Linked DNA regions of Homo sapiens: regions 1, 2, 4, 5 and 6 are each linked to region 3. Evidence: promoter capture Hi-C in 16 types of primary human blood cells and fetal thymus (Javierre and others, 2016). All regions are on one chromosome and are shown on one strand. Each heading gives the region's core, a stretch centred on a gene start or on the middle of the fragment in contact. The rest is flanking DNA. Distances are from core to core; before and after follow the strand shown.

Evidence for each region. Contacts are between HindIII fragments. The CHiCAGO score rates a contact against its expected background, and 5 or more counts as called.
Region 1: a contact is called between a fragment that was not itself captured here and the fragment with the promoter of MMGT1 in region 3, in 1 of 17 cell types (naive CD4 T cells). The highest score is 5.1, in naive CD4 T cells.
Region 2: a contact is called between the fragment with the promoter of HTATSF1 here and the fragment with the promoter of MMGT1 in region 3, in 12 of 17 cell types (total B cells, monocytes, naive B cells and 9 more). The highest score is 16.2, in total B cells.
Region 4: a fragment that was not itself captured here is called in contact with the fragment with the promoter of MMGT1 in region 3 in 1 of 17 cell types (non-activated CD4 T cells); the score reaches 5.6 in non-activated CD4 T cells.
Region 5: the fragment with the promoter of ARHGEF6 here is called in contact with the fragment with the promoter of MMGT1 in region 3 in 5 of 17 cell types (fetal thymus, total CD4 T cells, M2 macrophages and 2 more); the score reaches 10.9 in fetal thymus.
Region 6: a fragment that was not itself captured here is called in contact with the fragment with the promoter of MMGT1 in region 3 in 1 of 17 cell types (neutrophils); the score reaches 5.4 in neutrophils.

What each region holds. Positions count from the first base shown.
Region 1 is chrX:136,675,764-136,680,666 of GRCh38, reverse strand. ARHGEF6 (Rac/Cdc42 guanine nucleotide exchange factor 6) reads left to right here. Exons shown (of 22, transcript NM_004840.3): 16 at 1,007-1,132; 17 at 2,711-2,731; 18 at 3,950-4,043. Among named protein-coding and RNA genes, the nearest start is that of CD40LG, 30 kb to the right of the region's middle. The HindIII fragment of the contact is 1,387 bases long and covers 2,805-4,191 here.
Region 2 is chrX:136,496,150-136,500,903 of GRCh38, reverse strand. It overlaps HTATSF1 (HIV-1 Tat specific factor 1), which reads right to left and starts at 3,312. Exons shown (of 9, transcript NM_014500.5): 1 at 3,034-3,312; 2 at 1,126-1,306; 3 at 699-746; 4 at 86-240. The coding sequence starts at 3,219. RefSeq lists a silencer at 3,302-3,971. The HindIII fragment of the contact is 10,358 bases long and covers 1-4,754 here.
Region 3 is chrX:135,970,825-135,975,248 of GRCh38, reverse strand. It overlaps MMGT1 (membrane magnesium transporter 1), which reads left to right and starts at 1,261. Exons shown (of 4, transcript NM_173470.3): 1 at 1,261-1,652; 2 at 4,139-4,191. The coding sequence starts at 1,574. It also overlaps a transcript of SLC9A6 not described here. RefSeq lists a silencer at 1,063-1,172 and an enhancer at 1,183-1,712. The HindIII fragment of the contact is 2,640 bases long and covers 1-2,617 here.
Region 4 is chrX:136,582,467-136,587,411 of GRCh38, reverse strand. It overlaps the pseudogene RNU6-320P. Among named protein-coding and RNA genes, the nearest start is that of MIR934, 34 kb to the right of the region's middle. RefSeq lists enhancers at 720-789, 880-1,009. The HindIII fragment of the contact is 1,696 bases long and covers 2,321-4,016 here.
Region 5 is chrX:136,779,287-136,783,805 of GRCh38, reverse strand. It overlaps ARHGEF6 (Rac/Cdc42 guanine nucleotide exchange factor 6), which reads left to right and starts at 2,874. Exons shown (of 22, transcript NM_004840.3): 1 at 2,874-3,088; 2 at 4,309-4,392. The coding sequence starts at 2,924. RefSeq lists an enhancer at 4,219-4,438. The HindIII fragment of the contact is 10,728 bases long and covers 1-3,359 here.
Region 6 is chrX:135,348,696-135,353,639 of GRCh38, reverse strand. ZNF449 (zinc finger protein 449) reads right to left here. Exons shown (of 5, transcript NM_152695.6): 3 at 4,326-4,530. Among named protein-coding and RNA genes, the nearest start is that of ZNF449, 6.4 kb to the right of the region's middle. The HindIII fragment of the contact is 1,274 bases long and covers 2,024-3,297 here.

The sequences.
Region 1 (4,903 bases), core at 2,249-4,748, 700 kb before region 3:
ACTTACAAGAAGCAGCGAGCACACCCTTAGTCTTTTGGGCAGCCTATATTTGTAGATTTTGAAGTACAGTTAAACCTCACTCATTCTGATTTCTCATTATGAGGCCCATCCAAATTAATGAAAAGGTTTACTTAGAGTGTGCAGTTCTGTTTGACAGTATTCAGATACCCCAACTAACTGCTAGCAAAGTATTTCTAACCAGAAGTCCTGCTAAAATATTTTAATGATAAGCAAGGCTTATTTCCATGAGCAATGGTTATTCTCCTACTAACAGTGGGCTAAGTCGAAACAAATAGTTTACCTCCCTAAGTACTTAAACATCTCCATGTCATCTCACTCATGCTCTCACATTTGCTCAGTAACCTTCTTCAAAGGTAAACTTTTAGCATTATCTCCTTCTGAGTTATCACAAATTTAGACATTGGAATTTGAATTGATGAGATTTTACTGTACTTGCTGAGTGAGATGGAAGATATGCTGTGTTGTTTGTTAACATACAAACCTATGATGCCAAAATTCCAGTTTTGAGGACTGTGTGTTGTGGTTGGAAGAATATGGACTTTGGCTTCAGATCTGGGTTCAAATCTTGGCTTTGCCAATTACTAGTTAGTTGCTTCCCTTGACTGAGTCTATGTCTTAGGCTGTTCTCATGAAATAACCTATTTAAGCACCTACTAGAGTGCCAAACATATCACTGAACTCAAATGTTGACTGCTACTCCATTTTCCTTCCTTACAGAGGAAAGAAAATTAAATTAATTAAATTCCAGATGAGAAAGAGAGGACAGGATCATGGAATGTTGAGTCAATTTTGTGCTGTTTCTTAGAGACCCGATAATCTGGACTGGAAAGAACCAGTTCTCAAACTAGAGACTTTTGTTTTTCCATCTATCCCTTTCTATGGCTGTCTTTGCTAATCCAATGAAGCTATTGTTGTTCTCTCACTGTGTGGCACAAGGTCGGGTTCAGATGGCAGATTGCCAACATCTCATCAGACATTTTCCCAGTCTTTTAGCTCTACCGGACAGCCCCGAGGACCCTTGGAGCCTCCTCAAATTATAAAACCGTGGAGTTTAAGTTGTCTACGACCTGCACCTCCACTTAGACCATCAGCAGCACTAGGTTATAAAGAGGTAATTTTGCTACCTATGGTATAAAATGCTTCTGACAAGTTAATTTCGTAGCTTATTACAAATAGTTCTGTGGGAATGTGCTAGAATTTAAGATAGATGGTATTATGTGAGTCAGTCTTGAATTGCCAGACTCAGTGATTTGTTTGATTTCTTAATTTTCCATTTCCCATTGTCCATCTGCAAATATGTACTGAATATCTACAGGATCTATGTGCACTGCCTGAGTGTTCCCAGTCTCCTCCTGAAGTGCCTCTGGTTTACCTTAATGATTATTATGATAATCCTTTAGATTTGTTAATAATGTACACAAATCTCAAACAAGAGCCACTTCATTGTAGTTGAGTTGCCAATGAAGCAGACTTAATTCAGCATTTGGGATCATTTTGATCAATTTGAACCAAATTAGTAAAGTGTTATGGGACCAAGCTATGAGTCCAAACTATAAAAGTGATATTTGCTGCAATTGGAATGAGAAAAGAATTTGATGAAAGCAGTGTCTTTTAAAAAGAGGCTTCTCAGAGACAACCTTAAAGGCCATTTGATATTTGGGTAGTGTGGGGATTTAAAGGTTTTGTGTATTTTTTTTTTCTCTCAAAGTTGCAGTCAGGAAGTGTCACTCACTAGCTTCTGTAACTGTGTGGAGTATTACTTTTCCATCCAAACAGTGGCTTTATCCCTAACCTGTCTCAAATCATTTCAGATTTCAGAAATGATGCTCATTTATTAGTAACTGTTCTTTAAATTGGTCTTGTTGAGTGAAGATTAAGTTTGTGACAGTTATGAGATGAGTCTTAGAATTATGGGGCAAAGGTGGCTTATATTTCTATATCAAACGTGTGTTTTGATGAGTGATGCAGACTTAGCTCAATTTTGAGTGTTTTGATTGAAACCACCATGCTTTTGTTTCGATTAATTGTTGCTACCAACTCTAAGTGCAGTAAAAATAGGACAATATTTGGACACTGGAGGATTTTTTGATCCTTTCAACTTGACATGATAGGACAAACAACCCTCGAACTGAATCTTTGTTATATAACTCTATTTAGAATTTGGTCAGGAAGCAGTCCCACAGATTTGCTTTGGAAATTTACGTGCAATTCTTGCAATCATCCAATTTTCTTCTTTGATTATGTAAACCAGGAGTGCCACTTGATAGTTACCTAGGCCCCCTTTTTAATGATGGATATTTTGTAATTATCAGTTACTAAGTTCAAATTAAGGGTGAGCTTTGAAGAGTAAAGTTGACTTAATCCTTCACAAAACTAATCTATTAAAACTAAGGCATGATCACTTTGTTTCTGCTGGGGGAAGAGAGTTATTAATATATTCCTACTAGATAGTATGTATTTCAGTTGTTTTCAGCATTTGTTATTCTGCACAGAACTGTATTCCTCGGGCTTTTGCATGATAATATTGCATCTGAAACTAATGTGGGAAATGTGATTATATTCCCTCTGTGTAATTTATGATAACACTAACATTTCAAATGTTGTTTTAGAATTATTGATAAGTGGATTTGGTCATTATAACCATCGACCTCTCACGCTCATCTTCTCTTTCTTTACATATTCATTTTAGAGGATGTCTTATATCTTAAAGGTAAGGGTAGTACAATATCTTTGGCTTACAGTGACATCATAATGCTGTACTGTAACCTTTGATGAATGAAGCTTTCCCTTATGCTTGTTTTGTCCCTTGTTATAATTGGTGGCTAAAATATGAAGATGCAATTTTGACATGTAAGTACTTTGTTCAAAAAGCAGGCTTGTGTGAAATACATATAAAAATGTCATAATGCCCTAAAATGCCCATTTTCCTGTGTTTTTTTTTAAATTCTGTTTTTTCCTGTTATTTTTGTCATGTGAGAGTTTTTCATATCTGTCTTGTTTTCAAGTGTAAGTACTGTGGCTAAGTGAAATAAATTAAATGATTTGTTTCCTATATTTTTAAGGTACTATTAATAATTAATATCCATGCTCCATGTATACACATTTCTTGGAAAATTGGGATTAGGTGATCATGAGAGTTTTTTCCTAAGTCTAAGGTTGTAATCTGTTTACAGATTATTGGATTAAGGATTAAGGATATTGACAATGAGTATTTTTTTGACCTGCTGGTTACTCATATGGCAAAAACAAATTCAATACATTTATTTTGTCTACTAGTTAAATACATGGCTTTATATATGGATAGTTAAGTTTGGCTGTGGGTGTGTTACTTCTAACCCAAAATTATTTTTTAGGAAATCCTTCATTTGGTTCTTCTCTTTGACTGCGGAAAAATGGCTTAGTCTCTCTGCCTTAATTTTTCTGTCTCACAAATGGAAATTATATTCTTATTTGTGGGACTGTTTCTAAGGCAGAATTATTTAAATAGCTTTGAAGCTCTTTGAAAAGTGATCATTACTACATTAGTGGTTACAGTGGTTATTTAGTTCCCCTAAAACTGTATCAGTGGGGAACGTAAACCAAATTAGGAATACTGTTACGTTTTTAGGGTTGACATCCCTTACTTTCTCTGCAGATGGTTCCCTAAAGCCATTTGGCCTCCTGGAGAATCTGCCACATCTTCAGTAGGCACACTCCACTCTTAGTCCCACCTCTGTGCAAGTTGAGAGGATAATGTCATTGCCTCTGTTTTATTTAACCTTTTAGAGTTTATTGGAACCATTTTAATTGTGCATAGAATTAAACATTGATGTACTCCTAACTGAGACTGTCAAAATAAGAGAGAGGAATTCTACTTAGTTTCATTCATGCTTTTACTTTTGTTTTTGAGGGAGAATTTTAATTCATTAAGAAACCTCTGTCCTCACAGGAGTCTAGTAAAAGCCCTAAAACGATGAAGAAATTTCTTCATAAAAGGAAGACTGAGAGAAAACCATCGGAGGAGGAATATGTGATTAGGAAAAGTATGTGTTTTGTACTTTCTGAAAGTTGTTTATGGATAAATTAACATGAGAATCTTCTTTTATGTGAGGATTTATTTGAAAGCAGATGATTGGAGCAATTTTTTCTTGACATCGTCTTTTACATATAAAGAAGAATGCATGGAAAGCTTTGGTCACTTCTTAAACATTTGAATAAGCTTCTTACGGCTGCACTTCATGTCATCTTAGGCAGATGTCATCTGTATCATTTTTGTGTTGAGTATTTTGCCTCACCTGGTTTAGAACCTCTAAAGGGACCCATTTCCTATGGATACATTTTTTCCCTCTTAGTTTCTGATACTTGAGATATTTTTCTGCAGGGAGATAGACTAAATAGACCCGAAGGCTGAAGTCCTTCCAGAAGTCCCATGCTCAGTGATGCTCTCAGTTACTCAGGGAATCAGCCTGCCCACATCTAGAAACATAGTTTCATTTGGAGACAGACTGCAAAGTCAGTCAGCCAGTCGATATGGACATATTTGGCTATAAGGCTGTGAACAAGGTACTTTGGGACACAAGGTACTTTGGGACACATGTGAAGGAGTAAGTGATGTCTCACAAAGAGGTGACAGAATTGTGTGTATCAGCTGGGAATATAGTTTGGATAAATATTTGCTCCACTTCAGCTTTGGCATGCCCCACCCCCCACCCCACACCTGGTTATGCACACTGGCGTGTTCACAGGGTGCTGCCATCCAGCCATTGCAAGAATGAGTTTGGAGTAGAGGAGAAGGGAGAAGGGAAAATGAGTGACTATGCTGACTGGTTAGAAAATTGGGTGGGGTTGGCCGGGCACGGTGGCTCATGCCTGTAATCCCAGCACTTTGGGAGGCTGAGGCGGG
Region 2 (4,754 bases), core at 2,063-4,562, 520 kb before region 3:
GTTGGTTATCATCTATAGAAATTATAGCCCTGGTTCCTGAGTTAAAAACGAAGATACAAGAAACTTATTTGATCATACAACTTACTTTCAAATAACAGCAAAGACCGTCTCCTTTAAGATTTCCTTGATTATCTTTGTAAAGTTTGACCTTAAATTCTTCTGTCTGAGGATCTCTCATAATAATGCCAAACTTGGACATAAGTTGTATAAATTCATCCACTGTAATATCTGGAGGCAAACCTGTCATTTAAGAAAAATTAAAAAACATTTATAATTGATAATGAAGGTGAATTACTTAGCATTCTACCAATTAGAAATCTATAACTTAGGTGAATGCAATGTTGATTTTCTAAATGTATGTAAAAGTTTTACATTTACGGAACTGAAGAAATTTCACATTTTTGTGTGTTCAAATATACATTAAAATTATGCTTTCTTGAGGGCCTCACTGAATGGGAAGGGACACACTGCTGTAAGTTACATTAACCAGGCCTAAAGGTTGGTATGCAAAGTTACACACTAAATTTCTTGGTTCTGTAATGAACACACATATTCCTTACTAATATAAATGGCTGAACAAAAAATGACACAATGATAAAAAATGGACTCTGGAGAAACTGAAAGCTAAAAATCACTTCGTGAAAAATCTCAAAATTAAGTATTTCCTACCTTAAACCTGTTTAAAAAGTTATACATACCAGACACGTATACATTTGTATTTCTGTCTTCTTCAACATGAAACCATCCTAGAAATCAAAATTAATTAAATAAATAAAACACTTGCAAAAAAAGATAAGAGTCATATTATGGAATCTTGACAAAGCAGCAGTTTCTTGAAACTTCCAGGACGACCTTTCTGTTACTCTTAAAAGACCAAGATAAACTAACTCAAATCACTACCCAGCTTTCAAAAGATTTAAATCTTTTGAGAAATAATTAGTTTTAGAGCCCTATCTGGAAAAAAGATGGCCAGTTTATCTTGATTCTTTATAACTGACACTACCTTAAAGAAAAAACTCACCTTATTCCTTCAAAGCTATTATAATTCTCGAAAAAGCAACTGTACCTATGCACACCCATATTTTTAATTTTTACACTTAAAATTTGTAAGCTAGAACCACTTACCTGACTCAGCCTTTCTTTTTTCTCCCTTCTTTCTGGCATCAGTGGGTTCCGGGGCTTTTTCTTGTGGAGGTTCCTCTGCAGTCCTAGCATGGACATCTTCAACATTTGCGGTAGAACTAGATGCGCCATCGTTAGAGAAGCCATAATTGGCCTGATATGTAGCAATGAAATCTTCAGTAATCTACACAAGCAATTCAACAGACCCGGACAGAGAAATTCAAAATTATTTCCACTCATAAGAAGTTTAAATTGTGTTTTTACAGCATAGTTATACAACTTAACACAAAAGTGTTTCTGTGGATAATAGTTGTAGTTATTAAGGTATAAATGCAAGAATAGTCACCTTCTATAGAAAATTGTGCATACGGTGATAAAAAATAAGACACAAGTACTTAGATGATCAATGCAAAAGTCTGAGATACGATTTAAAGCATTTTAAGTGATGCTGGCACCTTTTCTAGTTGTTTCATTTATTAATTACTACCTCTCTACACTACTTGACTAAGGCTACAAATACATACAACAAAGGAAGAACCAGATAATAAAACAATAAAAACCAACAGTCAATGAATAATCTAACCACAGAATCCAATTTTCTCTTACTGTACAGATGCACCAATATACATGTACAATAAGTACTTAAATATCTGTATGCAGAGAGCACACAGAACAGAACTCTGATTTGGTATATAAAGAATGGGGTTAACAATTGTAAAACTAAATGCTCATTTTAACTTTATCACAAATTAAATGACGTTATATTTTAGTATCAGAACAAATTAAAGACAAATCCAACTCATATCTATCTTCCTCCCCTTTGGGGGAAAAGCGTTATTGCAAAACGAAAGAAATATAGTTATATCATCATACCAATCAATATTAGGCAGGCATGGAATGGGGAAAATGTAAAACCCAAAGTTTGAAGAGGTATGGGCTTCAACAACATAAAAGGATAAAGTCACACATTAATCCATTATCACACCTTTGTTAAAAGTATTCAGAATGCTGAAGAAACCAAATCTGCACTCAAACTAGCACTACCAACACAGAAGTGAAATCGTAAATTTTAACAATCTGGAGGGATTGGAATATATATACAAATACAGAATGGGAAAGAAAAGTTGCAAAAGAATTTTTACAATAGCAGTCCAGTCGCGCAGTGGAGACAGGTTTTGTATCATTGACTTGCAAGTCAATTTGTGTGCTATTAGTGTGCCCTTTCCTGCTCATGAGAGCCAGATTAAAAGGGCACTTTTACCACAAAGTTTACAGAATCAAGTTTAACATTAGTTATTTTACTTCGAAGCTGAAATAAAAATACTTAGCAATTTCCAAGTATTCCAAACAAACATACACAGATTTTCCATCTGTATTCTGTGTATCTCCAGTCTTATTCCTGTGGTTATATGGTTCAAACATATATGCCTAGGGACAAAATTTACTAGGAAAGTAAAGCAAGGTGCAAAGAAAGTTCAATTAGTAAAGCTATATAAACAGCTACTTTAAAAAAGAAATCAAGAAACTGCATTTTGCACATAGTACATAAGCTAAACATCTGAGTTCCTAGGACAAGTGGGGTTGGCTACCAGAAATGGACAGCTACTAAATTTGTTCTTGGTATTTTTCCTCTTTGCAATAAAAAGCAGTCATGTAATAATCAACTGTGACCTTCACAGACAAGATTAATAAAGCATAGAAAAGACTTAAAAATTACATTTAAGACACTACCCTAAAGATTTACGTTCTTTTACACATCGGTGCCCCAACAAACACAACAAAAAGAAGCGTCGCTATTCAAGGGGGCTAGGACCAAGGACCAAGGATCTCAGCAAAGCAAACGTAAAAGGAGTGCCCCGCGAGGCTGGCCAGGCGGCCCGCTCTGCAGTGGCGCCCGTGGCACTCTCCTACCTTGGGGAACCAAGCCTTTTTGTCCAGGTCCCACTCGTAGGGAGTGTCCGTCGGCTGCTGCCCGAGAGAATCGGGTTCTCCGCCGGCATCGGTCTGGGTGTCACCATCCTTGCCGTCTCCGTACAATTCTTGCATTCGCAACTGCTCATCAAACTCATCGTTCCCATCCAAGTTGGTGCCGCTCATGTTTCCTACCTAGCTCAGGAGCAGGGTTCAGAAGAACTAAGAGGCCGAAATGACGCTGGAGCTGAGCAGAGAAAGGGAGGTCAACCGCGCTCTGCTCGCGCCCCGCCGCCCCCCGGCCCGCCTCCCCGCTGCGCCCCAGCAGTCCCCGGGAAATCGCGGCCGCTCGGCGGCTGCACCGCCCCCCTCTCTGCCCGCCCACCGCGCGCGCGCGCTGATGCTGTGAGCTCGGCCGCGCCGCCGCCCACCTGGCTTGCTCCGCCGGGCCTCGGCACCGCCGCTAGGTCCAGGGCGCTGCGGGAGCGCGCAGGCGCGCTGCCGCCGCCGCCACCGCCGCCGCCGCCGACCGGATCTGAGGCGACTGCGGCTCCCTCGGCAACGTCAGGAAATTACTTCTAAACTAAGCCCTGCTCAGGCCGACGCAGCCGCCATTGTCGGCGCGTGGCGACGTCGCGGGTCGCGCCGACACGCCCACTATGGCGTCAAAAAGCGCCGACGCCGGCATGCGGCGCGAGGCCCGGGGAGGCGGGGCGCCGGGGTTGGGGGGACCCGCTGCTGCTGCGCGTCGACGCCCACCGGGGTCGGGTTTGGGGCGGGGCGAGGGCCACTGGGATCCCGCGGCGCCTCAAGGGCCTTGAGCTCCGCGGGGTCCCCGGCGGATCGGCCGGCCCGGGAGGGAAACGGAAGGAAGGCGTGGGAATATTCCCTCGCGGGGGTGGCCGGGCGGGTTTCGCGAGGGCGCCATCTTAGGGGAGTGGGTGGGGCGGACAGGACAAATTTCTCTGGCTTCGAGAAAACGACGCGCCTCCTTCGCCCAAAGGCCCCTCCCCCGCTCAGGAACCGCGTCTTTTACTTGTTTCTTTACGACACCCGGGGATAGACACCGGATCTTGTTCATCTTGGTAGCCTAAACTCCTGGCACCGGCTCTGGTGTCTAATGCGGAATGAGCGAATGAATGAACGAATGAGGGGTAGAAGGGCCAACTTTCTTTTTCTGGTGTCAGCCTTCTCCTTTATCGGTCTCATACCTTCCTCTGGCTGGAGTTCGACTCCGTGGGAAGGATGGAAAGGGCAGCAGTTGCCTGCCTCTTGTACTGCAGATTTCAGTGGCGCTCGAGCTTCGAACTTGAAACTTAAGCATAAATGTAAACATCCCAGTGTAAACACCAGCTTTATTGGCCGGGAAACTCCGCTTCTTTGTCATTCTTTTAGAAAGACACAGCATACTTTTTGTTCTAAACAGAACTTTGTTTTCAGGAATTACACTCATTGCTGAAAAGGAAAAGGTCCATATTTTTAAGTTGGGCAGGTATTTATTGAGCCCCTACTAAGTGCAGGGCACTGCGTGAGGCTCTGGCGACCCAGGAGTTGACAAGACAGGCACAGCTCAGGGGAGACAGAATTAAGATGGTTGGCACCTGACAGATATGAGATGCTGGAGGACAGCAGTTCTCAAACTTTTTGGTTCCAGGTCCTCTTTACACTAAAACATTGAAAACCCCAAAAAACGTTTGTTTGTGGTTTATACTTACCAATAT
Region 3 (4,424 bases), core at 12-2,511:
GGAGGAACTGGTGCAGAATTTGGAAAAAAAGGATGAATTCCATTTTAGCCATATTACGTTTTAAGTGCCACAGGAAATAAATGCCTATCTGGTAGTCAGAAATGCAGCCCTGGAGCTAAGGAGAGATATTTGTGATAGAGATGTCGATTTGGAATCACTGTAATACCTTTGCTGGCTGAAGCGGTGGGAATGAATGGGTGAGCTCCCCAGGGGACAGCAGAGTGATGAGGTCAAGGGGAGAAGCTCACTATTAAATGTCTACATTTCAGGAGATGAAGACAAAGAAAAATGGGCAGAGGAGTATACATTTTACCCGGATCAGAGATAGAGACAAGGCAAGAAGGCTGCGTTATTAGCATTTTAAAATTTCCTCTTTCATTTCTTCCTTAATGTAAGCTGGTTCTTTTCACGACAAAACACTCCCCCCGCGCTACACCTCTTTTTGCGCGAATCTTTCTCCAGGACCTTAAAATGGTTTACTGAGCACTTCCCGCGAGCCAAGTATTTGGGGTTCCAGATCCTGGGATTTTGTCCTGACACTGCCTCCTCGTTTTAACACCCTTGCCTCCTTCTGCAGTGCCAGTTTCCAGGGAGCTGAAGCACAGGAAAGGCCTACAGAAAACAAAAGGCACAGTTTCACAAAAAGCCAAAACCAACCAACCCACAAAACACAACTGTCAGGGGTCTATATCCAGCACCTACCGCCTTTCCCCAACGCCCCCAGCCCCGCCCCTCGGCCCCACCTCCTCCCGCCCCTCGGCCCCACCTCCTCCCCGCCCCCTCGGTCCCACTCCTCCGCGCCCCCTCGGTCCCACCTCCTCCCCGCCCCTCGGTCCCACCTCCTCCCCGCCCCCTCGGCCCTCACCCACTCTCCGTCCCCTCCGCCCCGCCCCCTACGCCCCACCCATCCTCCCGTAGGCCCCGCCCTCGGCCCCACCTCCTCCCCGCCCCTCGGCCCCACCTCCTCCCCGCCCCTCGGCCCCACCTCCTCCCCGCCCCTCGGCCCCACCCATCCTCCCCGCAGGCCCCGCCACTCGACCGCACCCACCAGGGCCCCCCCCCCCCGGCTACGCCCACCCACCCACCCACTGGCCCCGCCCCTCGGCTACACCCACCCTCGTGCGGGCCCCGCGCGTCTTCCCCACCCCGCCCGTCTGCCTACCCCGCCCCTCGCCCCCACACGTTCTCTACGCAGGCCCCCGTCCCTCTGCCCCACCCTGTTCTCGCCACTGGCCCTGCCCCCATTTGCCGGCGCCCTTCCTCTTCGCTTCCCCGTAGCTCCCGCTTTCGCCTCTTCGTTTATGACTCCGTTGGGCTCCGGCCCTCCTAGAGAGGCCTCCATAGCGCAGGTTCGTGGGTTCTCGCGGACCTTTTTCCGTGTAGCTTTCTGCTTCTTCCCGGCATTCCTGTTTCCGTTTTCTCACAGCCCTCTGGCTTTTCCACCACTGAGACACTTTGCGCTCAGGACTTCAGTGACGTCATCTTTCTGCGGCGCGCGGACACCCGCCGGTGGAAGAAGAAACAGCTCCGCCGTCCTTCGCTTCTTTTGCTGGGCTGCTGCTCCTTCGGCATCATGGCGCCGTCGCTGTGGAAGGGGCTGGTGGGCATCGGTCTCTTTGCCCTAGCCCACGCCGCCTTTTCCGCTGCGCAGCGTAAGTGCCTGGGGCACGGGGACCGCTTCGGTGTGGAACCCTAGGGGCGGTGTGTGGGCGCACTTCTAAGGGACCATCGGACCGAGTGTCAGATTAATGGTCCTTTGAGACCTTACAGTTTGGGGTGACTAAGAAAATCAGTGCAGGAGTTCCCAGTGGAAGGTTCGGAGTTTGAATTTGGAGAGAGTGTGGCACCTGAAATTGCAGGAAGGTTGGAAGGAGGTGTCTGGGAGAGGGTTCAGAATAGGAGTCTCCAGGAATCCAGGACAAGTGATGTCAGATCCAGCATGGGGCAGATCAGGCACAGTTGTGAGATTGAGGACTCTGGTTGCTCATGGTCCCACGACAACCAAGTGGACAACATCTTGGGCACTCTTGGGCTGTCCAGGCAGAGACTGAGTAGTTAAGTGACCGATTGCCTCAGGGAGGCACTGTGGTACAGGAGAAAGAGCACTGGACTGGGAGTCTAAAGGACTGGTTGTTAAAAACTTGCATTACCGCTACATCTGTGTGACGTTGGGCAAAAGATTTGTGCTACACTGCGTTATGAAATTCAGTTTTGGGTCGCTGTTTGAAATTGCGCTGTGTTTAGGTGCTAGAGATACAGTGATGCCCTGAGCCAGTTCAAAGTCTAAAGGAAAACAAGTGGATCAAGAAGTAGTTACAATAAAGTGATATGCTAAAAGTATATAAGGATGCATGGAAGCAGGGACAGTCATATTTTGGGGGAACTGGGAGGTTAAGGAAAGTATCCTAGATCCTTGCTGCTTACAGTGTGATCAACAGACCAGCATCATGAGCACCACCTGGCAGGTAATTAGAAGATACTCAGGCCAGACCTGTTCAATCAGAATCTGGGTTTTAATAAGATCCCAGGGTGATTTGTATGCGCATTAGTTTGAGAAACACTGTCCTGGAAGAGATTAGGATACACTGGAGTACTGTGTCATTTTCTACAGTAAGCTTTAACTGTAGAATTATATGATTGTGGGGCGAGAAGGGCCTTTGGAGTTCACTGAAGTCCAACCCCTTCATTTTACAGATGAGGAAATTCCTGGTTAAAGGTAGTGTTAGAAGCAGGCGAGGCTTCATGCAAACTAGCAAGCTAGCTAGGAATTGAACCAGATAGGAGATTAGTCAAAATCGATTTTTGGTGTTGGTTTGATGTTTCTTTTACACTTGTCTTTATGACAGAGCTGTAGGTTAAAACTTAAGAAATGTCTCTAAACACATTCTTCTTCAAGAGTCAATACACATGCACTCAAAAACAGTTTGAATTATTTAGTCCAAAGTACGTTATTAAATAGGGATTGTCCTAGGTTCATCTAGAATTAAGATTTTTGTATTTTATGTTTTGGGTGATGAGAATGCCTTGTGGATTTGCCACTGCAGTGAGACCTCTTTATATATAATGCTCATGTTAGGGAGAGAGTAATATGTAACTTTAAGACTAAGTGTGTCATGTCAGACTGTAGCAGCAGATAGCACAATGTGGTGCTGTGGCATGCTCATCTTTGCTGTAATGAACTTTGTTACAGTAGGGCACCAGTCATTTACTGTATCTTGTTTAATCCTCACCTCACATTATTCTCATTTTACTGTTGTGGAAATTCAGGTAATGAAAAAAATAGATACTGTATTTCTTTGATTCTAAGACACCCACCATTTTAACACTCTGAACTTGAGATATGTATTATGATCACTGCGGGCTTCTTTAATTAAATGAAATTATAGTAAATTGAAGAGCTGGCACTGATTTAGGCTTACCAGTTTCCAAATCCTGATCCTTTTCTTTTATCCCTTGCTGCCTCCTGAGGTTAAGGCAGCAGCAGCGGAATTATAATTAACTAGTAGAGGCAGAAATTGATTTCATGGAATTCCTATTCCACCACTGCCCCAGCGTATCCTCTCAGGAGAACCATTTCCATACCAGTATTATTTTGTCCATACTGTGTGGTTGGTGGTGGTGCTATTTCAGAGTTGAGATTTTCTGTAGACTTTACTTTTTAAATAATTGTGATTTCTTTGGCGAGTTAGTGAAAGTAACGGTTTTGAGAAGTTTCTAGTATTTCTATAATAATGAAAGAAAAATTATACTAAGGTATTTCTGCCTCATACTTGCTCACTTGTCACTCTTACCCATTTTATAAGGTGACAAAGCAGGTCATGATGAAAATAAAATAGTTGACTAAGATAGAGCTGACTACCTTAGAAGATAGAAGGTTTTGAGGAATCCAGGATTAGCATTACTTTATGTAGCATATAAGTCAGCCACTTCTTTTTTTATTTTTTATTTTATTTTATTATTATTATACTTTAAGTTTTAGGGTACATGTGCACAATGTGCAGGTTAGTTACATATGTATACATGTGCCATGCTGGTGTGCTGCACATAAGTCAGCCACTTCTTTGGTATATTGATTTGCTTCATTTTAAGAAAGAAAAATGAACTACAGTTTCCTTAATGGTATGCTTCTGGTTTATAGATCGTTCTTATATGCGATTAACAGAAAAAGAAGATGAATCACTGCCAATAGATGTAAGTTGGTCATTTATATTCCGTTACATGTATGTTTAAAATCAGCCACATAGCTTGTAATAATTTTTTTTTTACTGGTTTTTCGTAAAATTTTTCAGACATGAAATAAAATCTGATCTCCACTTTTCTTTTCTTTTCTTTTCTCTTTTGAGACGGAGTCTCACTCTGTCACCCAGGCTGGAGTGCAGTGGCCTGATCTCAGCTCACTGCAAGCTCCGCCTCCCAGGTTCACA
Region 4 (4,945 bases), core at 1,919-4,418, 610 kb before region 3:
CCTGTTTCCTTTTAACTGAGAGCCCCTGAGAGCAAAACCCACATCTTTTTCATTCGATCAATTCTGCCCTATCTTGCCTCTGGGCCTTCACTCCTAATTATCTTTCAGAGCTTTGCTTCAAGCACCTGCCTCCTGTGTGAAGCCTTTCACAACACTTTCCCATGTTCTCCTACCATGGGCTATAATCCCACAGCCATGGGGCCCACTGGATTTACTGTAATCTATTTGCTAGAATGTCTCCAGGTGTGCTAATAAATGTTTAATAACTGATTTTATGAAAGGAAAAAAGAAAACATTCCAAGTTTATAGTGATTGCCAATTTCCACTGTGTAAATATTCCCACCATGACCAATTTCAAGCTACCGACGTGAGGCTACACATTGATTTGGGTAGAAATGCCCAGTAGTACAGCATTATACAGCATTTCCATCAGACTGCTACAATAGCTATAGATCACCTCAAGAGCATATATAATAAGCAATGGCAGTAAAATAATTAGGAAGTGATACATTTTGAGTGTTTCTTACCTTTGTTTGAAATGTATTTTAATTGCAGGCTTATAGAATTTTATTTTTAATAAGTTTGTGTTTAACGACTGACTGGCAAAAATTTCTAAACATCTATCAACTCTCATGAATCAGTAGCAATGGGCTCCAGTGCATCACTGTTTGTATCTCTGACTAGACTGTGAACTTGAGAACTGGGACTGGGACTGTGCTGCTCATGGCACCTCCAACACCTAACACAGAGGAGGCACTGTGTAATGTTCATTGGCGGCAGCCAGGCATATCCATCCTTTTGTCCTCACTTTAAAAGGAGTTAAGAGAAAGTTCAGTGTGCTGTTTAACCACAAAGGCCACTTGGCAAATGCTCTAGAGGAAGCCATACCAACCTCAGCTAAGAACGAGGTCAGATCTCCGTCATACATAGTACTTTATTGCCAACTTCCTACATGTTAAGCTAGTGTGCCACTCCCTACTGAGAAACAAACAAGGCTCTGCTAAGTGTTTTATCCTTTCCTTGAGGGGTTAGCACCAGCTTACTTCCTAAAGAAGCAAGCCAAGATAGCACAGGTCTGATATTAATGCCAAATTCACACAAAATCCCATGTGGCAAAAGAGAATTCTTGCCTTTCTAAGCCTCAGACACTGACCCAATTATTTTAAGATCCATTGGCATTCACTGAATTCCAGCACAACAGGAGAATTTAACATTTCTCTGCGGTTTCTTAAAATGGTTTTGACTACCCTAGAGCACCAGGCCAGCCACCAGCAGGATAGAATGACAGGAATAGTCACAGTGTGTTAGAGGTCAAATCCCTAAGCCTACCTCTTAACTACTGGTGGAACTCTCTAGAAATGAACTTTTCATAATCATAGCAATGGTTAATATGCCACGAGTGCTATCTACCTCTGTGCCAAGCACCGTGTTAGACCATCCTCATAGACTAATTAATGAGGCCTCACATAAAGTCCTCAAGCAGTGGCACCCTCATTTAAATTGTCAGTTTGCTGGGGCTGTTGCCAATCCAGTAAGGCCGGACTGTAGCTGGGATAAAAAGGTTTCACTTCATTAAGCACCAAAATAATGCCATGGCTCTCTAAGAAATCATACTTGTGGGGAAAAGTCTCCTCTCAGTGACCATTTTTCCTTTTTGCCAATATGATGCCATACAAACTGGCAGATGTGGCTTCCTCAATGGGCATGACGAAGTCACCTTGAATTGCTCCATTGAGAAGCATGGCAAAAAGTGATTCCATGGGCTCAGCTTTGCCCTTGTCTGACATCCGTTCAGAGAGTTAAAATTCGTTGGCTTTTCAGGGCAGTGGGTGACATTACCCATGGTCCTCTACAGATCTTCAATAAGTTGACATTTCAAATCATTTGAATAAATCAAAGTGACAGAGGCACCTTAAGTTGCTGAGTTGGGGAGATGATTATAGAGAGCGAAAGACACATTTTCATTTTATTGCTGATGAGCAAAATAAGTAAAATTTGAAAAGGAAGTGGGATGCCTTGTGGGAGGAACCTTCTCAGGAAGAGGACTGCAAGTGGTACCTCTGTCTTGCCAGTGATAAACTGGTGCAGAAACGTTTCCAAACTATTCATCATGTGCACCCTAAAAACCCGATATGTAGAATCTGCACTATCCCTGAAAACAAGAGAGTCCCTGATTTGGTAAATCTTAACCCTGGAATACAAGCTTTCAGTATCACTTGGAGAAGTGAATCCAGTTTCCCTTAAGTGAAACTTGAGCCTTGGTCCCTCATAGCTATTGACCCTTATCTTCTGCAAAAGACCACTGGTGAAAACACAAGCTTAGTTGCTCTTCTATTTGTGTACAGAAATAGCCTAACTCTGCTTTCAAGCTGCTTTGTTCAAAATGTGCTAAGGATTTGTTGAGTGAATAAAAAAAGCAAGCAAGCAAGCAAACAAACAAAACTTTATTTTTTTTTCTTATTTCTCTAGAAAACTGGTAAACAAACAAACAAAACTTTAAATCAGACTGCAATTTAGGTCAAAAGTTAGAAAATATATTTGCAGTGCCTAATTCAGGAAGGAAGATCTTTTTCATGCTAATCTACTGCTAATTATAAAATAGGTGATAGCAAGCATTGTGAAGAGCTAAAAAGGAGGGGGTGGGGGCAGTGCTACTTCATAATTTAGTCACCCTTGATTGGAAAGTGGGCGTTTTAAGATTTGACACCAAACCCCAGCGAGTTACTCTGTAGCATGAGTTTCTCTCACTTCGGACTTTCAGTTTGGACACAGAAAGAACAGGGCAAAAAGTAAAGCCAGAAGGGATGATTTTTAAATGGCAAACTGCAAATAAGGATAGGTTTCAGGCTCCGTTGCAAATAGAGGTGGAATAATGAGAATAAGCTCTGTAAGGCCTGAAGGGAAGGAAACACATGGAGGTGGTCAGCTCCGTGCCCAACAAAATGCCCTTGAAGAAGCCTTTATGATCCTGGGTATAAGAAGAAGGTGGGGGGGAGCACTAAACCATTCTAAGACGAAGTTGTAACATTGACAATGTTGACTCCCTAGAACCAAGTCAGGGGAAGTATGTTTGGAGTCTAAGAAGCACAGTCATGTGTTGCATAATGATGAGGGTACATTCTGAAAAATGTGTCATTAGGTGATTTTGTTGTGTGAACAGCACAGAGTGCACTTACACAAACATAGGTGGTATAGCCTACTACACACCCAGGCTATATGGTGTGGCCTATTGCTCCTAGGCTACGAACCTGAACAGCATGTTGCTATGTTGAATACTGTAGGCAATGGGAACACAATGGTAAGTATTTATGTATCGAACATATCTAAATATAGAAAAGGCACAGTAAAAATACAGTATAAAAGATTTAAAAAATTATACACCTGTATAAGGCGCTTACCACGAATGGAGCTTGCAATAGTAGAAGTTGCTCTGGTTGAGTCAGTGAGTGGGTGGTGAGTAAATGTGAAGGTCTAGGACATCACTCCATGCTACTGTAGACTTTACAAACACTGTACACTTAGGCTACACTACATTTATAAAAAATATTTTTTCTTGGCTGGACATGGTGGCTCACTCCTGTAATCCCAACACTTTGGGAGGCTGAGGTGGATGGATCGCTTAAGTTCAGGAGTTTCAGACCAGCTTGGGCAACATGGCAATACATCATCTCTACAAAAAATTTAAAAATTAGCTGTGTGTGGAGGCACACACCTGTAGTCCCAGCAACTTGAGAGGCTGAGGTGGGAGGACCACTTGAGACCAGGAGTTCAAGGCTACAATGAGCCATGATTGCATCATTGCACTCCAGTTTGGGTGACAGAGCAAGACTCCATCTCAAAAAATACATAATTTTTTTCTTTCTTCAATAACTAATTAACCTTAGCTTACTATAATTTTTTCACTTTATAAACCTTAAATTTTTTTACCTGTTTTACTGTTTTGTAATAACACTTAAACACAAATTGTACAGCTGTACAAAAATATTTTCATCATGTATATCCTTATTCTCTAAGCTTATCTACTTTAAAACTTTTACTTTTTATTATTTTTACTTATTTTTAGTTTTTTTTAATGGAACGCATCACAATTTGTGTGTCATTCTTGCACAGGAGCCATGTTACTATTCTCTGTATCACTCCAGTTTTAGTACATGGGCTGCCAAAGCAAGCGCAGTTTTGAGACTTTTTTGTTAGACTCTAAGACCAAACACACACATTAGCCTAGGCCTACACAGGGTCAGGATCATCAGTATCATGGTCTTCCATCTCCACATCTTGTTCCCCTCTGGAAGGTCTTTAGGGACAGTAACATTCACGAAGCTGTCATCTCCTACGCTAACAATTTTTTCTTCTGGAATACTTCCTGAAGGACCTGCCTGAGCTTGTTTTACACTTAACTGTTTTTTTTAATAAGTAGAAGGAGTCCGCTTGAAAATAATGATAAAAGGTATGGTATAGTAAATATCTAAACCAGTAACATAGTTGTTTATTGTCATTATCAAGTATATGTTCTATACATAGTTGTATTGCTAGTCTTTTATATGACTGGCAGAGCAATAGCTTGTTAACACTAGTGTCACAAACATGAGTAATGCATTGCATTGCATTATGGTGTTAGGGCTGCAACGTTACTATGACTACAATGCCACTAGGCAATAGGAAATTTTTAATTCCATTGTAATCTTATAGGACCACCACTGTACATGTGGTCCTGTGATTGAGCAAAACATCGTTATGGGGCACATGACTGTAGCTTTTGGGCAAGTGGGTCTCAATCCTGCCTGCATATTAGAATCACCTGGAGAGCTTATAAAACTTTTGCTGTCTGGGCTGCCGTCTGAACTAATTAAATCAGAATATTTGGGTGTGAGACCCCAAATTGGTATTTTTATTTATTTACTTTCAAAATTAGGTAATTCGATTGATTGATTTACCTACTTATAGC
Region 5 (4,519 bases), core at 1,625-4,124, 810 kb before region 3:
TAGGCAATAGAGAGCCTTTGAGGGTTTTTGAACAGGGGTATTAACACTAGAGGTGTTTTTGGAAAATCAACCCAAATGTGCCCTGTTAGAGAGTTCATTAGGATGAGAGGATGGAGGTGGAAAGCCCTTGAAGAGGCAGGTTCAGTGGCCCAGAGGGTGTGGTACTGAGGATCTGAGGTAGGGTGAGAGATCTTTGCTTTTTTTTCTCATGCTCTTGTGTGAAGCCTGCTCTTTGTGTTGCTGTGACCCCCAGTCTTTGAATTCCCCCTCTTCCCCTATTCCCTCAGTTCATCAGCTCCTTTCTAGCTTCATTTGAGTCCCTAACCAGCCTGGGTTTCATGGGTACCCATTTCACCTATATGCTTGCCACTGCCCTGGAATTCCTTGCTTTGTTGACATTTTACCACACCAACTGTAACTTCCAATCTTTATACAAATAGAACTGGTTCTTTTGCCTTGAGGCAGTGGCCTTGCCATTCTGATATACTTTATTACTCATAGTAATATTTGCTATAGTGAGTGTCCAAAATGAGGCAGAGTTTTATCCAGATGACCTTGGTGAACTCAAGACTGTTTTGGAGGAGGCTGGGTTCACAAAACTTACTCAGGCTTTGTTCTTCATCAGAAGATGTAAGTGATACCTCAATAATACTGCCAGATTTTGTTTGTCTGTAGAGTAAAATTTTGATGAGCAGTTGTGAAAACTGTTCAGATGACATATAAAAATGTGTTTAAGTTCGTCAGATTTGGGAATTTTATTTATCAACAAATGTATTCTGTTTTTATTTCCATTACATAGATTTGGCCATGGGTCAACGTCAATGAAAACTTTTGATTGATTATACTTATTTTGCTTAAGTCACAAGTACATCAAGCAAACCTTGTTATAGAACTATGGACAGACACAATAACATGAATGAGTATGAAAATGATGATGTTGAGTTAAGAAGCCAGAAAAAAGATAGTACCATACTGTGTACTTCCATTTATATAAGATTCTTGAAAATGCAAACTAATCTATAGACACTGAAAATAGATTGGTGGTTGCCTGGCATTTGGAGGCAAAGAGGAAAGAAAGAATTGAAAGGGCACGAGGACAATTTTGGGGGTGATGGAAAGGCTTATCTGGATTGCATTTGTGTGATTGTATCAAAGATGTATGTATATGTCAAAATTCATTAAATCATATATATGCAGTTCCTTATGTGTCAATTACAGCTTAATAAAATGGTAAAAATCATTAACAAGAAAAAATGTTTGTTTTAAGCCATTTAAACCAACCAACAAACAAAAAATCCTTGCTATAATCAGTTACTGTCTATATCAGGGACACCATCTGAATACATTCATTTATTCATTCAGCATTTTTTAACATCTACTGTGTATACCTGGCAGTCTGCTGGTAACACAGTGTTAAATAAAAAAAAACAAGACCCCGAGTTTAGGAAGTTTACATTCTTGTGGAGGAGTCAGATCATCAGATCAACAAGTGATAATAGTAAAGTGTGACAAGTGTCCTGACAGAGCAAGAAAGGGCAGCTTTGAAAATGTTTAGTAGGGTTATCTAAGCTGATTCTTTGGTAGTAGATGCCTGAAGCTGTGTTGAAAAGAATTCTGAGGCTTAGTAGGAAAGAGCTATACATGATCTGATGTCTCCCATGCACGAGGAGAGGTAATCATGGTAAGTGCCACACATTTGCCAACATAGGGTTATACTATTAAAGTTGGCCTTATCATAAATTTCCCAATAGTATGCCTATTTCAAGTGGTTCTGAAAATGTTTGAGAATGATGAAGATCTCTTGTTATAGACAGTTTTTTTTTCAGAGCAGTATTTTAAGTGCAAAGTGTTTTTTTGTTGTTGTTGTTGTTGGGAAAATAAGAATCTTCCATATTGTAGTGTAGACAGAGGACAAGTGCTCTTTTGTTCTCAAACATTCTATTTTTTCAAGTGTATTTTACCCACTTATGTGACTGAGTCTGAGCCTTTGCTAAGGGTACTGCAGCTGGATTATGTAGTGGAACCAGGTCCAGAAAAAGAATTGCTAAAGAATGCAAGTAAACAGGATGTCAGATGTTATCCTTAGCCTATTTCCCTAAACATAGCTTTTTGGCTGCAAAGTAAAATGCCATTCTTCTAGCTTCTGCTTATACACAGTGATGGCTGACAGCAGGCATAATCTTCGTTTGCTTGGCACGTTGTCACCATGCAACTCAACGTGTTTTGCAAGGAATGATCGTGACACACCATCTCTGGGAGATACTATGAGGACATCCGGCTATTTCTTGGAAGAATTTTCTGTCTACCTTCTTTGAGCCCTGTTGTGCCAGCACATCTCCCCATGAGGCTCAGATCTGTCTGACCTAAGAGCCAGTTGGCATCGTCCTCCTAACAGAAGCCAGATTTTCACTGGGGCTAGACTATTTATTGACAGTGTTTTCCCAGACTGGCCCATGAGTGTCTCATTTCCAAGGTCCCCTGAAGTGCTGGCTCACCTCTGTTTCCCAAAGCACTTGCTTGCTTGTCTCTCCTCCCTCCCCAGCATCCTTTTCACTTTCTTCCCTTATAACTTCTTGCACTCTGTGTGCGTGTGTGTGTATGCGTGTGTGCATGTGCGTTTCTTCTTTTTTTTTATCCTAACGAATTTGTTTTGCAGGTTTTGAAAAGGAAAAACCAGCGTTATCCAGGATTGTTAAATTAATTCTTATCTGTTTCCACATCTTGGACCGTGATCTCTGTGGTTTTAAAATCCCATATTTTGAGTGGGTTCCGCTGTTGTTTAAGAAAAGTTGCTTTAAACCTTTGCTCTGCAAGCACCCGAAGAGAACTCATAAAAAGGAAGACAACAGCAGATGCAATCGCGGATGTGGCTTAGTCCTTGCAGCTGCCCCAGAGTGCTGTTTGGAGTGTACCGTCCTCAGTAATGAATCCAGAAGAACAAATCGTGACATGGCTTATATCTTTGGGAGTTTTAGAGTCCCCTAAAAAGACCATCTGTGATCCGGAGGAGTTTTTAAAGTCCTCGCTGAAAAATGGGGTAGTTCTGTGCAAACTGATCAACAGACTCATGCCTGGCTCTGTGGAAAAGGTAAGGGAAATTTGCAGTCTCTTTGGGATTGCTTATCACCAGAGAGCAGCAATCATGTAACTCTTGAGATTTTTCTATTTCCCAGGCCATGGGAATCTCCTACTTTAATATTTTTCTAAGAGTTAGACATTCTTTCTTACTGTTTTTGTAGTTTGAAAATGTAAGAAAATGAAACGTTATTCTTTAGTAATTGGCCCCCAAATTGTAGTATAGGGAAAACCTGTGACACCACTGGCAACAAGGGACAAGGAGAACACTCATATCACAAGCTTGCTCTATCATGGAGATGCATGTTACATCTCCTTGTGTACCGAGGACATGTTTTGAACTTGGGGTACTTATGAGTCTGTGGAAAAATAGAATGATTTATAACAGATCTTGGTGGTGTTTATTGGCAGTTTGATTAAAATCAGTGTAGATTTCCTTTTAGAAAAATCCATTGAAGGAGAGACTATATAGCAACTAGGAAAAAAATAATTCAAAATGTCACATAAAGTTTGTAAAAGCAATAGAAACCAGATATATGTTTCGAATGCAATGTGCGTTCAAAGTGAAACTAACTTTACTCTCTTTAAAACAATTCAAGATTTTTAATAGCTGGAAATCCACGATCACGAGAATAGATAATTTCTAAAGTAGGCACTTTAAGTAAGCTTAAAGGTACAATTTTACATTTACTTTCTTAAGGTCATCATGGACTGTGAGCATAGCACTTTTGCCTTCATGAGCCAGTTTGTATTTTTATTGAGCAAATAAATTTACTTATAATTTCTTAAACTTGAGAAAGAGTGATTAAATAGTGATAAAATGTAAAGAAGTGTGGTCAAATGTAGAGGGGAAATAGAATTTTATTAAATTATCAGGGGGAAGGAGGAGAGAGAGGTACCAGGGATTGCTTCCTTTCTTGAAAGCAAGAACTAAGCTCAAAAAACTGTCTTGGTCTCCCTAATTTGCCATCAGCACACTGGAACAGAAGGCATGAGAGAAAGCTTGTAAGTAGACATGGCTTGCCACTAAAGGTTTGGTGACATTTGAAACAAAGATCGACCGTTTAGATTTTTGCATCACTTCCTTCAGTGGTTATTTCTCTTCCTGGATTGACAGCAGTGTTGCCCCACACCTTAAGAGGCCTGCTTTCTCTAGTTATCAGCAAATGATGAGTATACTTTGCTTGGCATGGGATGACAATCTCCAAGTGACATTTCACTGTGTTCCTCTAGTTTTGTCTGGATCCCCAAACTGAAGCTGACTGCATCAACAACATCAATGACTTCCTGAAAGGATGTGCAACCCTCCAAGTGGAAGTAAGCCTACCCCGGGTGCCTTCCCTGTTGTCATCGTTTTTTTGCTCTGCTAATCAAGATTGGTAGTAAGAGTACTTGTTTATTTTCACTGTCATTGGCCACTGAGTTAAACAGAGGTAGCAGACTG
Region 6 (4,944 bases), core at 1,411-3,910, 620 kb after region 3:
TAGAAACCAAAGCCTGTTACCTTAAATTTAATCATCTCTCCTGGTTTTGAGACCATAGTCTAGAATATTAGTTTTCCAGTGACAATAACATATTGCCCAGGATGTTAAACTCATCCTCTGGCTATAGCTAAGAGATCCATCATAGGTATATTATATTTGACCAAATTAAGTGAAGAAATTTTACTTAGGAAAAATTAACTGAAGAAAAAAAAAGGAAATTATTTTTGATTTTTTTTTTAAGTAAAAGGCTATTAAGTCCAGGCATGGTTGATTCAAAATACGCTCCCAAATTCTTCGGTATTCTTTCCTTCAAGAGGTGGAACTTCCTTTTCCTTCACTTAAGTGTGGGTTGGACTTAGTGACTCTTCTAATGAACAGAATATGGTATAAGTATGGTATGTAGGTAGGTTATCAAAGACATTGTGTCATCCTCCTTGCTTTCTCTTGGATCCTTTGCTCTGGGGGAAGCCTGCTGCCCCATCATAAAGATACTTAGGTAACCTATGGAGAAATTCCTTTGGCAAGGAATTGAGGCATCCTGCCAGTCCCTGATGACATCTTCACAACAACTACAAGAGAGACTCTGAGCCATAAACATCTAGTAGATCACTCCTGAATTCCTCTCAAAAATAGTAACATGATAAATACTTTTTCCTTTAAGCTGCTAAGTTTCGGGGATAATTAATTGCCCTTCAATAGCTATCCCATGCAAAGAGGGAAAAGCAATTGGAGATTAACAAAGAAGGTGCTTCATTGAATGTTCCCCCCATCCTAAACTCAGGGAATGGCTTCATTAAACCCCATTAGCAAAGACTGTCTCGTAAGAGCTTCACTACACCAAGAAATGTCATTACTATAGTTGGGGGTTAGATATTAGCTTATGGTAAATTTTTTGGTATAGTAGAATAATCTGAAGAAGTTTAAGTTATAAGAATCTTCTGATGCTTTCTAGACAGCATTTGTTTGTCCTGTATTTTACTTTAAATTTTCATCTCTCATATTCTTCATCACCAAAAAGATGTGATCTTTTACATTTCACACACATTCCAAATGAAACCTCATCAATTGAAATGAAAAACCCAAAGCTTTGACAACTCAAAATGCAATCCAGTTTTGGTGTACGAATTTTGAACTCCATATTTTCAAAGATAAGCATGATATATTTTATGTTTTTAAGACTAGCGTCTCCTTGCCTCTTTTCTTTCTGATTGCATACATTCTAATATTATTGCCTATCTCTGGCATCAAAGTGTCCAGCATGAATTCAAATAAGGGATTTTGTTTTAAAGTTTATGTCTTCCTTAGGTCACTTTATATTGTTCACTTAAGTTCTCTTTTATTTTGCAATGAATGTGTATATGTGTTTTCAGTTATATTACATGAAAAAATATATATGCACAATTCATATATACTCAACAACCTAATTTTTTGCTCATAGGAAATAGGTTCCAAACATTAATATAAAATCAATTGACTTCTTCCATTACTTTTGAATTTCTTTTCCACTCAGCTGGCATCTTGTGCTTTCCATTCAGTCCACAATAGAATGTATTTCATGTAATACATCAAATATACTTTTGTTTAAAGTAAAAGTTTAAGTAACCTTTAAATAATAAAATAAGCCTTGCAACATTTTTCAAAGCATAATATATCACTTTAAACGGTGATAAGAAAAGGATAATTTCCTGTCCTCCAATTTGTAATTTTTATCTGTTAAATTAATTAATTCTACCTATCCTTTGTTAAATATACTAGATTTCCATGTGCTTTAGAGAGCAAAATATTAACACCAGATAAATATTGCTACTATGTGGTATTTGTACCTGCAGTGTTGACAAAAGGAGCGAATTAACATGGAGAATCAGAATGCAAATGCAGAAAGAGTTATACTTCAAAATATTACTAGCTAAGTTTTACTACTTGTTCCAGGCATATACACATAAACCCGGTTTTGTTTTTTTTTTTTTTTTTTTTTTTTTTTAGAATTCCTCAATAGACTATGAAATGTAGATGATGTAAAGCTTGGAACATAAATGGCAATATATAGTTCTGCTTTGACCACAATATGCATACTTGTAAAGTTTTCCTCTTTTGTCACTTTTATTTAAAAATATGCTGGAGACCCATAAGCACCTCAAACTCTGTATGTTCAAATCTAAACTCAACTTGACCCACCGAATCTGATCTTCCTCTTTTGTTTGTCATGTCAGTGAATAACATTACCATCTACCCAGTTCAATGGCCAGAAACCTGGATTCCATCCTTACTCCCTTCTTCTCCATCACCCTGACACCCAATCACCAAGCTCTATATTTCACACCTGCTAAGTATCTTTTGAATTACATTTTCACTCCATCATCACCAACATGCCCTTGCTCTAGAACAACATCTTCTCACCTGAATGATGGCAACAACCTCCCAAATGGGGTCCCTGCTTTCAGTAGTATGTATCCATTCCTACTATAGCCAGAATAATCTCCTAAAATGCAAATTTGTGTGTATCATTCTGGTACTGGAGAACCTCAAAATGGTTCCCCACTTCCCTGATAATCAAGTGTGACTTCTCCATGAGGCTGCAAGTTCTTCGTGACCCAGGACCCTGCTTCTCTCTCCAGCCTCTTCTATTGCCACTCCTGCCCCACTGCTCTTCTATGTCCCTTGCACTGCAGCAGGAGGTCTTCTCTCTGCCTTCAGAACGTTGCACATGTTGTTGCTTTTGATCCCAGCCCTCTCCGCTTCCCATGTACACCACTCCACAGGCTCACTTTGATCCATCCTGTAGGTTTTAACCCAGATCCTCCTTCCTCCAGACTTCCCTCTCAGCCAAAAGCTGGTTAGGTGGCCCTCCTCCATGCTCCTGGGCATCCTATTCCTCCCAACATACCATTTACTGTCAGATTTCTGTTACATACAGGACAAAACGTCCTACTAACATATCTGAATTGTCCACTGAACTGTAATCTCCAAGATGACCAGAGCTGCTTTCCAACCTTGTGTGCTACTGAATCCCCAGGGTCTGGCATGGTGTCTGGCTCCTCAAAGGTGCTCGTAGATAGTGTACAAATGAATAAATGATATTAATATGATGTGGAAAGGGGCATGGTTCCTAATCCTGGGTACTGAGCTAGTTATGGATGGATCAGACATTTATATTTTATAACTTGGACAGTTCTTATTTTCATTTTTTATGTGTCTTCTGTGGTCTCAGTATTTAACAGTCTCTTGAACGTGCGAACATGTTGAAACAGTACCTGGGGGAGTCGGGGAGAGGATTCTGGCCACACTCGGGCCAAAGCTTTAATGTGAGGGGTAGAAGAGGTACAGGGAACACTGGGTAAGAAAACCCCAAAGGAGAAGCCGGGTGTAATGGCTCACGCCTGTAATCCCAGCACTTTGAGAGGCCAAGGCAGGCGGATCACCTGAGGTCAGGAGTTAAAGACCTGCCTGGCCAACATGGTGAAACCCCGTCTCTACGTGTGGTAGTGCATGCCTGTGATCCCAGCTACTTGAGAGGCTGAGGCAGGAGAATCACTTGAACCTGGGAGGTGGAGGTTACAGTGCGCCGAGATTGCGCCACTGCACTCCAGCCTGGGCGACAGAGCAGGACTCCCGTCTCAGAAAAAAAAAAAAAAAAAATAGAAAACCCCAAAGGGGAATAAAATATAGGAGCAACTGGACTATGTGATCGTGCTGCCTTTCTCCACTTGGACTTTCTCCTTCTAGAACTAATCCCTGTGGTGTCTGGGCCAGTGATTCTCAAACTTTAGTGTGTGTAGCACTCACCTGCAGAGCTTGCTAAACATGCACCTGTGGTGTTCATGCTGCAAATGGTCTGCTTACTACAGTTTGAAAAACACTGTAATAGGTTTTGATTTAATGAGGTAGATATTTCCTTTAGACTGCAGTAAGTGGTTGATCTTACAGGATCTAAATAGACTATATTACTAAAGTATTAAGTTTGAATAAGGCTCTGATGCCATAAAAGCAACCGAGGCCCTTGGGGCCCACCACATCACAGTTCCTGTTGATTAAAATTGGGCTGAGAAATGAGTCCTTATCCAGAATCCAAACTCCCATAGTTTTCCTGTGTAACATTCTTGATCAAAAGACTCCTTATCAGGGTCATTAGCTTAAAGGGTTCCTAATCCCAGGGTTCTATCCAAAGTGCTTTGTTCCCTACTATTCCCAGAGAGACTTTTTCCTCTTCTTTATCTGAGTGGTCAATTTCCATTGAGTAATTGGTGTTTCTAACCCAACCCCAACCCTTGAGAGTTCCTGAACTCTCAAAACAGAAACAAAAGAAAGGAGAGAAACCCTTGCCTTACCAGGGTCCAGAAAGTTCTGACATTCTCCAGTAGCACCATAGTTCAGCTCCGGTGGCCCTGCCTGTGGGATCCATGCCTCTGCTACTGGGGCCTCCTGGGCAGGTCCCATTACCTGGAGTGCAGGTGACTCTAGGTGCATGGTTGGTGGTATGTGTGCCGTTCCCACTGGTGCCAGTTCTTCCAAGAGCATGTCATGCATATCAACCTGGGGGAAATGCCAGAACCATCACTCTCAAGTCTAGACCAACAGTGCCCAGTAGAATTGTATGAGAATCATGCATGTAATTTTAAATTTTCTAGTGGCCATATGAATAAATTTTTTAAAAAGTAAGGCCAATCTTAATAGTACGTGTTACTTAATCCAGTGCAAACAATCAGGATTTCAACATGTAATCAATATGAACAATTATTAGTGAGATATTTCACCTACTTTTTTCATACCAAGTCTTCTGCATGTGGTGTGTATTTCATACTTACAGCAGATCTCAATTTGTATTGGCCATATTTCAAGGGCTCAAGAGCTGTACATGACTAGTAGTGACTGTATTCAGCAGCAAATGTCTAGACCACATGAAGATAAAATCTTATATAGTAAACAAAACCAAGGAGACAGAGAAAG